3 separate regions of the Homo sapiens genome follow, and regions 1 and 3 are each linked to region 2. Evidence: promoter capture Hi-C in human tissues and cell types (Jung and others, 2019). All regions are on one chromosome and are shown on one strand. Each heading gives the region's core, a stretch centred on a gene start or on the middle of the fragment in contact. The rest is flanking DNA. Distances are from core to core; before and after follow the strand shown. Region 1 overlaps LOC100630923 (LOC100289561-PRKRIP1 readthrough). Region 2 holds the start of NAT16 (N-acetyltransferase 16 (putative)). Region 3 overlaps PRKRIP1 (PRKR interacting protein 1).

What was found. Contacts are between HindIII fragments. The study calls those that stand out against the background at their distance.
Region 1: a fragment that was not itself captured here is called in contact with the fragment with the promoter of NAT16 in region 2 in 1 of the 25 tissues and cell types used here (dorsolateral prefrontal cortex).
Region 3: a fragment that was not itself captured here is called in contact with the fragment with the promoter of NAT16 in region 2 in 1 of the 25 tissues and cell types used here (lymphoblastoid cells).

What each region holds. Positions count from the first base shown.
Region 1 is chr7:102,373,303-102,378,313 of GRCh38, reverse strand. It overlaps LOC100630923 (LOC100289561-PRKRIP1 readthrough), which reads right to left. Exons shown (of 9, transcript NR_038967.1): 3 at 2,365-2,491; 4 at 1,992-2,102. It also overlaps the pseudogene LOC100289561. Among named protein-coding and RNA genes, the nearest start is that of SPDYE6, 19 kb to the right of the region's middle. The HindIII fragment of the contact is 5,084 bases long and covers 1,220-5,011 here.
Region 2 is chr7:101,178,893-101,183,438 of GRCh38, reverse strand. It overlaps NAT16 (N-acetyltransferase 16 (putative)), which reads left to right and starts at 3,146. Exons shown (of 4, transcript NM_198571.3): 1 at 3,146-3,397. RefSeq lists silencers at 692-909, 2,977-3,271 and an enhancer at 2,643-3,365. The HindIII fragment of the contact is 15,471 bases long and covers 1-4,546 here.
Region 3 is chr7:102,397,801-102,402,463 of GRCh38, reverse strand. PRKRIP1 (PRKR interacting protein 1) reads right to left here. Exons shown (of 6, transcript NM_024653.4): 3 at 2,816-2,916. LOC100630923 (LOC100289561-PRKRIP1 readthrough) reads right to left here. Exons shown (of 9, transcript NR_038967.1): 6 at 2,816-2,916. Among named protein-coding and RNA genes, the nearest start is that of PRKRIP1, 3.8 kb to the right of the region's middle. The HindIII fragment of the contact is 8,345 bases long and covers 1-4,663 here.

The sequences.
Region 1 (5,011 bases), core at 2,512-5,011, 1.2 Mb before region 2:
TGCACACCTGTAATCCCAGCTACTCGGGCGGCTGAGGCACAAGAATCACTTGAACCTGGGAGGCAGAGGTTATCATGAGCCAAGATTGCGCCAGTGCGCTCCAGCCTCAGTGACAGAGTGAGACTCTGTCTCAATAAATAAATAGGCTGGGCACAGTGGCTCAGGCCTGTAATCCCAGCACTTTGAGAGGATGAGGCAGGCGGATCACAAGGTCAGGAGTTAGAGACGAGCCTGACCAATATGGTGAAACCCCATCTCTACTAAAAATATAAAAATTAGCCAGGCATGGTGGTGTGCACCTGTAATCCCGGCTGCTTTGGGAGGGTGAGGCAGGAGAATCCCTTGAACCTGAGAGGGGGAGGCTGCACTGAGCCGAGATCATGCCATTGCACTCCAGCCTGGGTGACCAGAGTGAGACTCCATCTCAAAAAGGAAGGAAGGAAGGAAGCGAGGGAGGGGAGGGGAGGAAGAAAGGGAGGGAAAATATATATTATCTGGGCCAGTAAAATGCAGATGAAGGAAAAGGACCATGATCCTTTGAATGGAAGATGGATCCACTGTAATCCAGGTATGGGAGAATACTGAACACTAATGTCAAAAGAAACAATGTGCTGATGATCTGCAAGGCATTTCACAGAAGACAAAGAACACAAACAATGGAGAGGAGACTAACACAATCAAATACTGGGAGGTGAGGAAGGTAGACAGAATTCATGATTTTGGAATGTGCACAGTTTATCATCAGACATTCTGAGAAAGAAGGAAGTGAACTATCTCACTGGTACTGCTATGTTGTCAAGTAAAATATTCAACTAGGTTAAAAGTGTCAGACATATCAATCTGGAGGCAAACTGCAAAAATACACAAGAAAAAAGGTCTTAGAAGTTGAGATTAGAAAAACTCTTTTAAGGGATACAAAGAAAACCAAAAAAGTAGAAAACGGGTTCTAGGGGGACACTCCTGAAAAGGCAAGAAAAGGAACCAACATTCCCTTATGAAATTCACACTTCCTGAATGTCTACTATGGACAGAGCATGATGCCAGTTATGGGGAAGGGGAAATGAACACACAGACGGGTCATAAATGAGCACTGGGGAAAGAGGGGAAAGCTGAGGGAGCGCTATATCATCACATCAACTGAGCATGGACTTGGGGAAATAAGGTAAACCACAAGCTGTGACTCAATTCGCAAGCATAGGTAGAGGACGAGGTTTTGGTATCTGAATGCCTAAAGAAGTAAATAAAATCGAGGGCAGAAAATAAGTCCAAGGTATTTTTAAAGCAAGGAAGGAAAGAAAATGGAAGATTAAAAGAATGAACCTAAAAGTCTCAAGTTAATTTTTATGTCAGACTTCTGAATGCCCCAAAACAAAACAATTCTGTAAGGCCGAAAGCAGTGGCTCAGGACTGTAATCTCAGCACTTTGGAAGGCTGAGGTGGGCAGATCACTTGAGGCCAGAAGTTCAAGACCAGCATGGCCAACATGGTGAAACCCAGTCTCTATTAAAAATACAAAAATTAGCCAGGCGTGGTGACATGTGCCTGTAATCCCAGCTACTCAGGAGGCTGAGGAAGGAGAATCGCTTGAACCTGAGAGATAGTGGTTGCAGTGAGCGAGAACATACCAGTGCACACCAGCCTGGGTGATAGAACAAGACTCTGTCTCCAAAAAACAAACAAACAAACAAACAAACAAAAAACTCACAACAATTCTCTAATGGCGAGGGAGTAAATAAGTGAGCGATAATGCTGGAGAAAGAGGAAGTGACTGGGTCCCCAGTACAGGTTAGAATGAAAAAATCCCTACCAATGTAAATCAAATGTAAAATCAACAAAAGAGTTCATGTATGTGGTATGTGTGTGGGAAGGAAAGTGATATTTGGGGGTTGGGAGGTGTTACTGAGGGTACCGAGTACATATAAACAACTCTTTAGTCACTCCCAAAGGTCGGGGATGAGTGTTTTTTAACATGTGATAATCTACTAACTTACCTGGACTATGTTGACATGGAAATTCACCTTCCATTATCCACGGCTCCTCTCCCTGCTCCACTTCCTTCACCTCCACTCCATGATGATGTTTGGCTTGGTGATAATCATACCCTGTTAATGGGAAAAGAAGAAGGACTTGGGCAAGCTGCTTGGCTTCAGAATCTCCAAAGTACAAGATGTTGCCACCTCATAAGCTGCATAACAGAAGTGCTCCATTTTTTACCTTATCAAAGTTAGAACCTTTCAATGAAGAATAATATAAACGCTCCAGCTAGTGCCCACAAGGAATTAAATGGTGTCATCACTTATTTCTTCAAACTCAAGGATAAAACCCCATTCAACTGAGAGCATTCAGAAAGCAAGCTATCCTCACCCACAGAAACTAGATGGCTGTAGTTCTCCAACATCACATCCCCGTATGCTATCTTCTCATCAGGGTCCAGTTGCTGCCACTCCTCCTGGGTGAAATCCACAGCCACATCTTTGAATGACACTGGCCCCTGTAATGGCAACATGATCAGAATTGGGAGATATGGAAAAGGGATAGGGGGATATCATTTTACAAAGCTCACTCGTAAAGTTAACCATGAACATTGTATACCTTATTTTATGTTACAGATTATGGAAGGGAAATCATATTGGAAATCATACAGGAAACATATATCCTTTGGGGATATATATATATAAAATATATATTACCCCACAAAAATAAAAACCCAAAACACAACTGAGCTCCTATTTTGCAACTGAACTGAGTTTTGGGGACATGAGATGAGTGAAACACCATGCCTGCTCTGAGAAAGCAGACAACCTAATAAGGAGATAAACATGTAAACAAACACAAGCATTTTACTCCTTGTCACTTCTTTGCTGCCAGGCCCTCCCCTTCTCCTGGACCTCTTCATGTTGGAGTGCCCACCACTCAGTTCCTGGTCTTCTTCTTCCTAACTCACTGCTCTGGGGCTCTCACCTAGTTTCAGCTCCTTGTTCTTTTGTCTTTTTTATTCTCATAGCCAGTGGCCTCTGGCTATCTGCATGGCTGAGTTTTATCTCAAACATCTCAATCTCACAGCAATAAATATTCATTAAATGAATGAATGCCCAAAGCTGTTATTAGAGTAATGCAGACAAGGTGCAGAATGATTTAACAAAAGAGGATCAAATTATTTTAACTTTATGCCATCAGTTAGGCTTCACAGACTCAGTTAACTTGAAGTCCTTAAAGATGAATTGTGTATTCTATGGGATGAAGGGGAAGAAGAATATGATGAGGTGTAAAAAGTACCAATGGCAAACATGAAGCAGCTTCAATTTTTAAGAGGTTGGGGCTGGGCATGGTGGCTCATGCCTATAGTCCTAGCACTTTGGGAGGCCGAGATGGGAGGATCATTTGAGCTCAGGAGTTCGAGGCCACGTTGGGCAACATAGTAAGAACCTCATCTCTACTAAAAATAAAATTTTTTTTAAAAATTGGCTGGGCATCATGGCACATGCCTGTAGTTCCAGCTACCTGGGAGGCTAAGGCAGGAGGATGGCTTGAGCCTGGGAGGTCAAGGCTGCAGTGAGCTGTAAATGCGACACTGCACTCCATCCTAGGCAACAGAGCGAGACCTTGTCTCAAGAAAAAAAAAAGAAAAATGCAAAACTCCTGGGCTCCAGCAATCCACCTGCCTTGGCCTCCCAAAGTGTTGGGATTACAGTCTTGGGCCAGCATACCCTGCCCAAACTTGTAGTTTAGAAAAAGGAAGTGCCCAGTAAGCATGTTGCATTATCCTGTTATTTATAAAGAAGATATCAACAAGGGGTTCAAACCCAGTGATATAGCTAGGACAATGTAGATCCCAAGAGATAGCAGAGGCAGAGCCGCTAGGCTGGTGGGCTGAGAAACTAAAGCAGAACATCCAAGCTTATCCACAGGCAGGCCACAGGAGCTGATAAAATCACCGAGAGAGAGTAATAACCTTCTAGGTTAAGTTAGTCCAGAAGGCAAGGAGGTGGAGGGGTTAGAAGATGGATCAGCCAATAAATAACATAAAATTACATGCCAATACAATACCACTTATATCAATACAAATACCCAAAATGAAACATAACCAAACAAAATCCAGTACCAGATTAAAAACATAATATACAACAGACAAATAGGACTTATTCCAATAATATAGACTAGTTTAATATTTGGAAACCTATTAATATGATAGGCCACTATAACACAGCAAAGAAGAAAAATCTTGTATCCATGAAGATACTTGAAAAAGCTTGACAGAAAAACCTGATTTAAAAAAACAAACTAAAGAAAACAGAAACTGATGGATGCTTCATTAACATCAATATTATGTATATATACAAATATAAATATTACACCCTAATATGCAGTAGTACGTATGATATATATGTGACATATGTATTTCAATTACACACAAGCACATATATAGTTTGTGTATATACACACACACGCACATGCACGTGCACACACACACGCACACACATAAACTCTTATGCCTCAGTCTTCTTGGTCCAAAAGTCAGGATTTTACTTAACAGGGAAAAACTACATACCTTCCCATTAAGATCAAGAACAAGGTATTAATAAAATGCTCATTATCTACAACTAGAGAAGAGAAAACAATTAGAGGAATATAACTAAGGAAAAGTAAAAGTGCTCGGGCGGCCAGGCGCGGTGGCTCACGCCTGTAATCCCAGCACTTTGGGAGGCCAAGGCGGGCGGATCACGAGGTCAGGAGATCGAGACCATCCTGGCTAACACGGTGAAACCCCGTCTCTACTAAAAATACAAAAAATTAGCCGGGCATGGCGGCGGGTGCCTGTAGTCCCAGCTACTCGGGAAGCTGAGGCAGGAGAATGAAGGGAACCCAGGAGGCGGAGTTTGCAGTGAGCCGAGATTGTGCCAGTGCACTCCAGCCTGGGCGACGAGTGAGACTCCATCTCAAAAAAAAAAAAAAAAAAGTGCTCGGGCACGGTGGCTCACGCCTGTAATCCCAACACTTTGGGAGGCTGAGG
Region 2 (4,546 bases), core at 1,897-4,396:
AGCCTGACCAACATGGAGAAACTCCGTCTCTACTAAAAATACAAAAATTAGCTGGACGTGGTGACACATGCCTGTAATCCCAGCTACTTGGGAGGCTGAGGCAGGAGAATCTCTTGATCCCGGGAGGCGGAGGTTGCGGTGAGCCGAGATCACGCGACCGCACTCCAGCCTGGGCAACAAGAGCGAAACTCCGTCTCAAAAAAAAAAAAAAAATTTAGCTGGGCGTGGTGGTGCAGCTACTCAGGAGGCTGAGGCCGGAGAATCGCTTGAACCCGGGAGGCGGAGGCTGCAGTGTGCCAAGATCGCGCCACTGCACTCCAGCCTGGGCGACAGAGAGAGACTGTCTCAAAAAAAAAAAAAAAAAAAAAAAAATTCCTATGGGATCTGGTCCATAGCCTTCTCAGAATATACTTTGCTCTTCTGTAAAATGGCTAAACAATCCGCCCTCCCCTACAGCGTTATGGAGATTAAGCTACAGTGCTTAGTAAACATTGGGTGGTTCAGTGGTTCACCCCACATCACCACCACTCTACTGGGTAGAGGGTAATCCTGGAACCTAGGCCAGCCACGCCAGGGCTGTCTCCTCTCAGCCAGATCTCTCCTCCATCCCAGAATAGGCCGCCTCCCTGCAACCTCTGAGCACTCAGGCAGCTGAAAGCCACTTGTTCTCTAGCTGAGAGGAAAACCGGCTCTCCTAGATGTGTGAGAATGAAGCCTGGAACAAGATGGCTTTCCATTGGCCCAGTGAGCTGTTTGGAGGCGGGACTTACAGTGACAACTTGCTTCTGAGTGGCTTGGACTTAAGGGGAGGGGCCGAAACGTTGGTAAACTTTTAATTCTGAATGGCTGATGGAACTGGAAGTGTGTGAGGGTTGGGCCAATCCAAGAGTTTCTGTTGGTGGAAGGTGTGGCTTCTGGCGAAAGGGGCGGGATTAGCATATGATGGTCTCTCCCTTTGGCCACTAGTGATTTTTTCCTTGAAACCTGTAACTTTTTGAAGTTCTTTCCCATCATGAAGCATATGGCACCTTAACTGCAATCTGCAGTTTGGTGAGACGCACAGTGTGTTAGCACTTTCAGAGATCAGAAATGGGGGGAAGTCCTATTAAAAAATGTTGAGTAACTTGTCAGTTGCATTTTGCCCTGCCTCAGCCTAGAAGTCGGGATTCTCATCCCTTTAACCCTTGGTGTTATTCCTGTTTAGCCCTTTAACCCTCGGTTGGAATTCCTGTATGTGGGATTCCAGGAACATGACCTTCCTTCTTATTGCATTGGCACATCCAATGGGATCAGTTTGCCTGATTATGAAGTTATCACCTCGGAAAGTAAAGAAAGAAAAAATGGAATAAGATGGGTGAACAATGAATTTTGGGGTGGGGGAGAGGGTAGGGGGAGCATGAGAGCTGGGCGGCCCCTGGAGAGAGGACTCCAGCAGACCTTGAAAGGCCTTAACATTATTCCCTGCATCGGCCGGGCACGGTGGCCCACGCCTGTAATCCCAGCACTTTGGGAGGCCGAGGCGGGCGGATCACGAGGTCAGGAGATCGAGACCATCCTGGCTAACACGGTGAAACCCCGTCTCTACTAAAAATACAAAAAATTAGCCGGGGGTGGTGGCGGGCGTCTGTAGTCCCAGTTACTGGGGAGGCTGAGGCAGGAGAATGGCATGAACCCGGGAGGCAGAGCTTGCAGTGAGCCGAGATCGCGCCACTGCACTCCAGCCTAGGCGAGAGTGAGACTCCTCTCAAAAAAAAAAAAAAAAAATTATTCCCTGCATCTCCAAAGCAGTTTACAGTTGCTAAAGGGCTTTGTCCATCACTTTCCTGGCTCCTTACAGGGTAGAACTGAAGGTGTTCTGATCTCACTTTATTTATTATTTTATTTTATTTTGAGTTGGATTCTCGCTCTGCCGCGCAGGCTGGAGTGCAGTGGCACGATCTCGGCGCATTGCAATCTCTGCCTCCCGGGTTCAAGCGATTCTCCTGCCTCAGCCTCCCAAGTAGCTGAGATTACAGGTGCAGGCCACTGTGCCCGGCTGATTTTTGTATTTTTAGTAGAAACGGGGTTTCGCCATGTTGGCCATGCTGGTCTTGAACTCCTGACCTCAGGTGATCCTCCCACCTCGGCCTCCCAGAGTGCTGGGATTACAGGCATGAGCCACCGTGCCCGGCCAGGCCAGGCTAATTGTTGTATTTTTAGTAGAGACGGGGTTTCACCATGTTGGCCAGGCTGGTCTCGAACTCCTGACCTCAAGTGATTCCCCCGCCTCGGCCTCCCAAAGTGCTGGGATCACAGGCTTGAGCCACCGCACCCAGTCTTGAGCTCACTTTATAGGTGGGATGGAGAACCTTGTAGGAGTTAAGAGCCTGGGCCACCGCCTTATTAGAGCAGGGGCAGCGCTGCACCCACCCGGGTCCCAGCTCCACACTTCCCTCTTCCTCCCCAGCCACCAGGATCAGCGTGGGGTGCAGCGCCTCCTGAGTGCAGAGGTCTGTGTGAATGTGCCTGGGTGTGCGCTGTGTACCTGGAGGTCTTTCTGCCTGCTGTCCCGTGGGGTACATTGTGGATTTAGGGGCCTTGTGCACCCGGGGAACCAGGGTGCTCAGGCACCCACGCAGTGGTGAGAAGATGGAGAGATCTTGGCCTCCCTCTGCCCTTTTCAGCCTTTCAACTTCTGTCTCTTGATGTCTCTTCGCCTTCCCGGTGTTCTAGGGTTTCTGATTCCCTCTATCAGTTTCCGGGGACGAAGGCTCGGAGTCCCCTTCCCAGCCGCTCTTATAATGGAGAGAGGAGATTCCATTGAGGGGTGGCTCCTGGAGGAGGGGTACTTCAGGGCAGTGGGGGACCCCCGGACAGAGAACGGAGGTGCTGGGCGTGGGGTGGGGAGATAACTAAGCCAGCAACACCAGCATCACCACCACCAAAACCCGAGACACCACCATCCTCAGTCCCACTCCCCAGCCGGGACACAGGGCGGAGTCTCGCCAGTAGGGCTTGAGGCCACCCAGCTGCCCAGGGCGCACCCCGACCCCCGGCCCCGCCAGCAGGGCACGAGTCCGCTCCGGATCCGTCCCGGGTTTCTTCCGCGTCGCCGGGGTCTCCGCCCCTCGAAGCTGCCGCCGGAGCGTCGCCGGGGGAGCCACGCGTGCCACCCGAACCCCTGAACCGATGGGCGCCCCGGCCCGCGTCGCCAACGGAGCTGCGGCGCTGCCCCAGCGCTGACCGACGTTAGAGTCGGGCTCCGACAGCGCGGCCGAGTCCCCGCGCGTCATCCTCCTTTGACTCTTGGGGGCTCCAAAGGGACCTCTCTCTTGGCACCGGGGGTGTCTGCGCCCGCCGCCCGCCCCGCTTGGCTTTGCGGCATCTCGGCCCTGGCTCCAGCTCCGGCTCCGGCGAGGTAGGGGGGCGGCCGGGCCTGGGGACTGGGGAGGGGGCTAGCGTGCTCCTCCACCGCAGAATGGGGCAGCAGAAGGCCACCGCCCCTCAGGGGGACCAAGCGGCTGCGCCCCCTTCTGCCCAGCCCCTCCCAGTCCGAAGACCCAGAAAACTGAGTCAGAGGCTGCGCTTCAGGTGTCCAGAAGCGCTCCCCCGCCCCCCTCTGTTGCCATGTCGCTCCCACCTGTCCCCAGGGTCCGGCGCCCAGGGGAACCCCCGCCAAGCAGATCGCTCCCTTTGCAATCTCCCTCTCCCCCAAGCCCAAGCCCCCAATCCGGGGTAGAGGCAGAGGGAAGACCCTCACTCGGGAAGACCCTGCAGGACAGCCCCCCCTTCTCCACTACTGTGGCCCTCTGGGGCCCTCCCCCCACCCCCTTTGGCTGGGCCATCTTCCTCGGCCCCTGCCTCTGCCCACCCCCTAGGCCTTCTCTCCCGCCCCCACTTCATCGCCTCTCCCCGTCTCTGTTTCCAAGGTTGTTCTCTTACGGCCTTTTTTCTGACTTTCTTTTCCCCTTGACCCCTTCCCCTCCACGGATCCCCGCCCCCCATACCCCGGGGCGAAGGGGGTGTGTCACGCTGCTTTCTATTTACAGTGTCCCAGGGGAGGGGGTGCGTGCTAGGATTTTTTTTTTTTCATCTGCTGGGCCCAGAGTCACGAGGTGTCATGTCTGTGATTCGGTGTCGAAGCCTCCTCCGGCTTCCCTGCCTGTCCCCTGCGGCCGCATCTCCTGTCCGCTTTTGTCTGCTCTCTGCCTCCATTCCCGTCCTTTTCGCTCTCATCTTTGGGCGCTTTGTGCAGCTGCCTTCTTTGTCTCCGCCTCTCCGGCGACTGGGCTCTCCCTTCCCTCCCTCTCCTCCCTCCCCCAGTGTCAAGAAGCCATCGGCCTCAAGGGCATCGATATTTCAGGTGTGTGGGGTGTGGTGGGAGTGGGGTGCGGGTGGGTGGGCTGCCGGCATTCCCAGCTCTGACTCCGATCATGCCCAGCTATGACTCTGATCACCCCCTCCCCAAAGAGATCATTCATATTTATGAGATTTAAAGAATGTCCCCAAGGATGTGGGGATAGACATGAAGAGAGAAATGTTATTCCTCTTTTTTTTTTTTTTTTTT
Region 3 (4,663 bases), core at 1,744-4,243, 1.2 Mb before region 2:
CACCCCCCACCCCCTTTCTTTCTTTTTGAGACAGCGTCTGGCTCACTAACTCAGGCTAGAGTACAGGGTGTGATCACAGCTCACTGCAGCCTTGACCGTCCAGGCTCAAGCGATCCTCCTGCCTCAGCCTCCCAAGCAGCTGGGACTACAGGTGGCTACCACCACATCTGGCTAGTCTTTGTATTCTTTGTAGAGATGGGGTCTTGCCACGTTGCCTGGGTTCAAACTCCTGGGCTCAAGTGATCTTCCCACCTTGGCCTTCCAAAGTGCTGGGATTACTGATGTGAGCTGCCGCACCCAGCTTGATGGTTTCTATACACAGAGCATTATTTTTGACAGGCAAACCCACTGCAGTGACCTGGTAGAATTTTGTGACAAAAACTGTCTAATACTTCTCACTAGGATTGAGACTGTTACCAACAAAAGATGGCAGAAACAAGAAGAACCACCAACACCCAGGGGCCAGGAAAAACTACAGGACAAGCAAGTATCAGTTGACAGCCAGCACAACAATGACCCCATTCTGTTTCCAGAGCAGGACATTTTTTCTTCTTCTTTTTTCAGAAGGAGTCTCACTCTGTCGCCCAGGCTGGAGTGCAGTGGCACAATCTCAGCTCACTGCAACTTCCGTCTCCCAGGTTCAAGTGATTCTCCTGCCTCAGCCTCCCAAGTAGCTGGGATTACAGGTGTGCACCACTGCGCCTGGTTAATTTTTGTTTTTGTTTTTTTTGAGACAGAGTTTCACTCTTGTTGCCCAGGCTGGAGTGTAATGGCGCAATCTCAGCTCACCGCAACCTCCAACTCCTGGGTTCAAGCGATTCTCCTGCCTCAGCCTCCCGAGTAGCTGGGATTATAGGCATGTGCCACCACGCCCGGCTAATTTTGTATTTTTAGTAGAGATGGGGTCTCACCATGTTGGCCAGGCTGGTCTTGAAATCCTGACCTCAAGTGATCCACCCACCTTGGCCTCCTAAAGTGCTGGGATTACAGGCATGAGCCACCACGGCTGGCCCCCCAAAGCAGAATTTTTTCTAACTCAATTTTGGCCATTCCAATAAATTCTTACATATTTTCTTCTGTATCCTGGCTGTCTCTTTGGTTTAAATTTTCCCTAATGTTTTATTTTGAAAATTTCAAACAGAAAAGTTAAAAGAATTATACAGCAGATATATCCACTGCTCTTTGACTCAACAATTCCTGTTGTGCTGGATTTTCTTTATCACACACCTATTGATCTATCCATACCTCTATTGGTATGCACTGTATTATGTCTTCCCAGCAGTCCTGTTTCCAAGCCTCATTTTCCTCATCTATAAAATGGGGAAAATTATGATTCCTCCCTTCCAGAGCTCTACTCATACATCTATTCCTCCACTAATTCATCATTTTTTTGTTTGTTTGTTTTGGTGCATTTCAAAGTAAGCTGCAGACATCGGGAAGTTCCATTCTTGAACATTCAAGCATGCACGTTATTAAATAGGGTTTCATATTTGTGTATGCTTTTCTTCTTCCTTTTAAAGTAATAGCTGGCCGGGCATGGTGGCTCACGCCTGTAATCCCAGCACTTTGGGAGGCCGAGGCAGGTGGATCACTTGAGGTCAGGAGTTCAAGACCAGCCTGGCCAACATACTGAAACCCCATCTCTACTAAAAATACAAAAAATTAGCCAGGCATGGGGGTTGTGCCTATAGTCCCAGCTACTCAGGAAGCTGAGGCAGGAGAACCACTTGAAACTGGGAGGTGGAGGTTGCAGTGAGCCAAGATCACCCCACTGCTCTCAGCCTGGGCAACAAGAGCAAAACTCCATCTCAAAATAATAAATAAAGTTAGTATCTACACAGAACCAAATGCCCAGATCTCGAGTGTACAGTTTGATCACCCCAGAAAGTCCCCTCATACGTCTTTTCCCAGTCAACCGTGACCCCAACCAGATAACCAGTTTTTTTTTCTCACACAAACTAATTGTACCTGCTCTAAAACGTCATATAAATGAAATTACACAATATGGTCTCTTTCGTGCAAGGCTTCTTTTACTCACCATGTTTAAAGATTCATCCCAGTTGCTGTACAGATCAGTAGTTTGTTCCTTTTTATGGCTAAATATTACAATATTTTATGATTATTTCTTGGTGTTATTTTTTTTTTCCTTTTTTTGAGATGGAGTTTCACTCTGTCGCCCAGGCTGGCATGCAATGGTGCAATCTAGGCTCACTGCAACCTCCACCTCCCACGTTCCAGCAATTCTCCTGCCTCAGCCTCCTAAGTAGCTGGGACTACAGTTGCCCACCACCACGCCCAGCTAATTTCTGTATTTTTAGTAGAGACGGGGTTTTGTATTTTTAGTAGAGACTCTGCATTTTGTGCTGTCCGTAGAAGGCAGACCTCACACCAGCCACAACTAGCAGTATCTATTCTTCCTCAAACGCTTTTTTCTTTTCTTTTCTCTCTTTTTTTTTTTTTTTGAGATGGAGTTTCGCTCTTGTTGCCCAGGCTGGAGTGCAATGGCACGATCTTGGCTCACTGCAACCTCCATCTCTTGGGTTCAAGAGATTCTCCTGCCTCAGCCTCCTGAGTAGCTGGGATTACAAGCATGCACCTGGCTAATTTTGTATTTTTAGTAGAGACAGAGTTTCTCCATGTTGGTCAGGCTGGTCTCAAACTCCCGACCTCAGGTGATCCCCTGCCTCGGCCTTCCAAAGTGCTGGGATTACAGGCCTGAGCCACCACGCCCAGCCTCTTCAAATGCTTTTTTCTAAAGAAAGTACACGCACACTGCCCAAACATGGGGGCTCAGCCAGCCTTCTGGCTCACTGACCTTCTCAGCCATGGCATCCATGTAGTCCTGTCGCTGATATTCTCTCCGGCGCAGATGTCTGTACACGTGGAACTCTCCACTGCCGGCCCCAGCACTTGAACCTGTAGCCAGAACAGTCCACAGTTCTAGATGAAATTCAGTTACCAACACAGGTCACCCTTAATCGAGGGTGACTAAAGAAACAAAAAGTGGAAGTCGTGGAAGGGACCATGCCTTCCTTTCTCCCCACTGTATCCAGAACTGGCCCAGTACCTGGCATATTGTAGATGTCGTGAATTATTTGTTCTATGAATGTTGAATGTAAAGTCACTAAAAATCCCACTCAAATGCAGTATCAGGAGGGGCAGACTGTGGTTAAGTGACTTTCTCACCTCCTCCATGATTTCACATTTGACACGCTAAATTTCTAGTGAGTTGAAAAGACATCCATGATACATTAAATGAAATAAAGGTGCTTACAAAGTTGTATATGTAGAACAATCATATTTTTGTAAAAGTGTTTTTTCTTCAGCTTTTTTCTTTTTTTTGAGACAGGGCCTTGCTCTGTCACCCAAGATGGAGGGCAGTGGCGCAATCACAGCTCATTGGAGCCTCAACCTCCTGGGCTCAAGCCATCCTCCTGCCTCAGCTTCCCAAGTAGCTGGGACCAGAGGCATGCACCACTATGCCTGGCTAATTTTTACATTTTTAGTAGAGATGAGGTCTTCCTGTGTTGCCCAGGCTGGTCTCAAACTCGAGCAATTCTCCTGTCTCGGCCTCCCAAAGTGCTGGGATTACAGGCACGAGCCACCGTGCCTGGCCTATGTTGCTTTTTAAAGACATAATGCTATTGCACATTAAACTACAGTAGAGTATAAAGAAAACTTGTATGTGCAGTGGGAAACTAAAGAATTTACATGATTCCCTTTATTGCGACATTCACTTTAACTAGGTTGCCTGGAACTAAACCCGCACCATCTCCATGGTAAGCCTGTAGATATGTTAATTTATGATCCAACAAAATAATAAAACTATTTTTATTTACAAAAAAACCACAATGCGTTATTAAGAATAATGCAGGAGATGGCCGGGCACTGTGGTTCACAGCTGTAATCCTAGCATTTTGGGAGGCTGAGGCGGGCGGATCACCTGAGGTCAGGAGTTCAAGACCAGCCTGGCCAACATAGTGAAACCCAGTCTCTACTAAAAATAAAACAATCAGCCAGGCATGGTGGCACGGGCCTGTAGTCCTAGCTACTCAGGAGGCTAAGGCAGGAGAATCGCTTGAACCCGGAAGGCGGAGGTTGCAGTGAGCCGAGATGGTGTCACTGCACTACAGCCTGGGTGACAGAGTGAGACTCTGTCTCCAAAAGAAAAACAAAAACAAAAACAAAAACAAAAAAAACCGCAATACTGCAGGAGAAAATTCTATAGTGCCAAACCATAAGCAACTATAGCCCTTAAGCTAAATTTACCAATGTCAAATGAAAAACAAATAAAAGCAACTATATCCCCGTCATTGTAAAAGCAAAACACGAACATGTGAACACACATTTCCCCTCATCAGAGATTTAACAAATACCAACTACAGGATTTTTATAGCTACCTTTTTTTTTTCTTTTTGAGACAGAATGTCGCTCTGTTGCCCAGGATGGAGTGCAGTGGCGCCATCTCGGCTCACTGCAAGCTCCGCCTCCTGGGTTCACGCCATTCTCCTGCCTCAGCCTCCCAAGTAGCTGGGACTACAGGTGCCTGCCACCACGCCCGGCTAATTTTTTTTGTATTTTTAGTAGAGACGGGGTTTCACCGTGTTAGCCAGGATGGTCTCGATCTCCTGACCTCATGATCCGCCCGCCTCGGCCTCCCAAA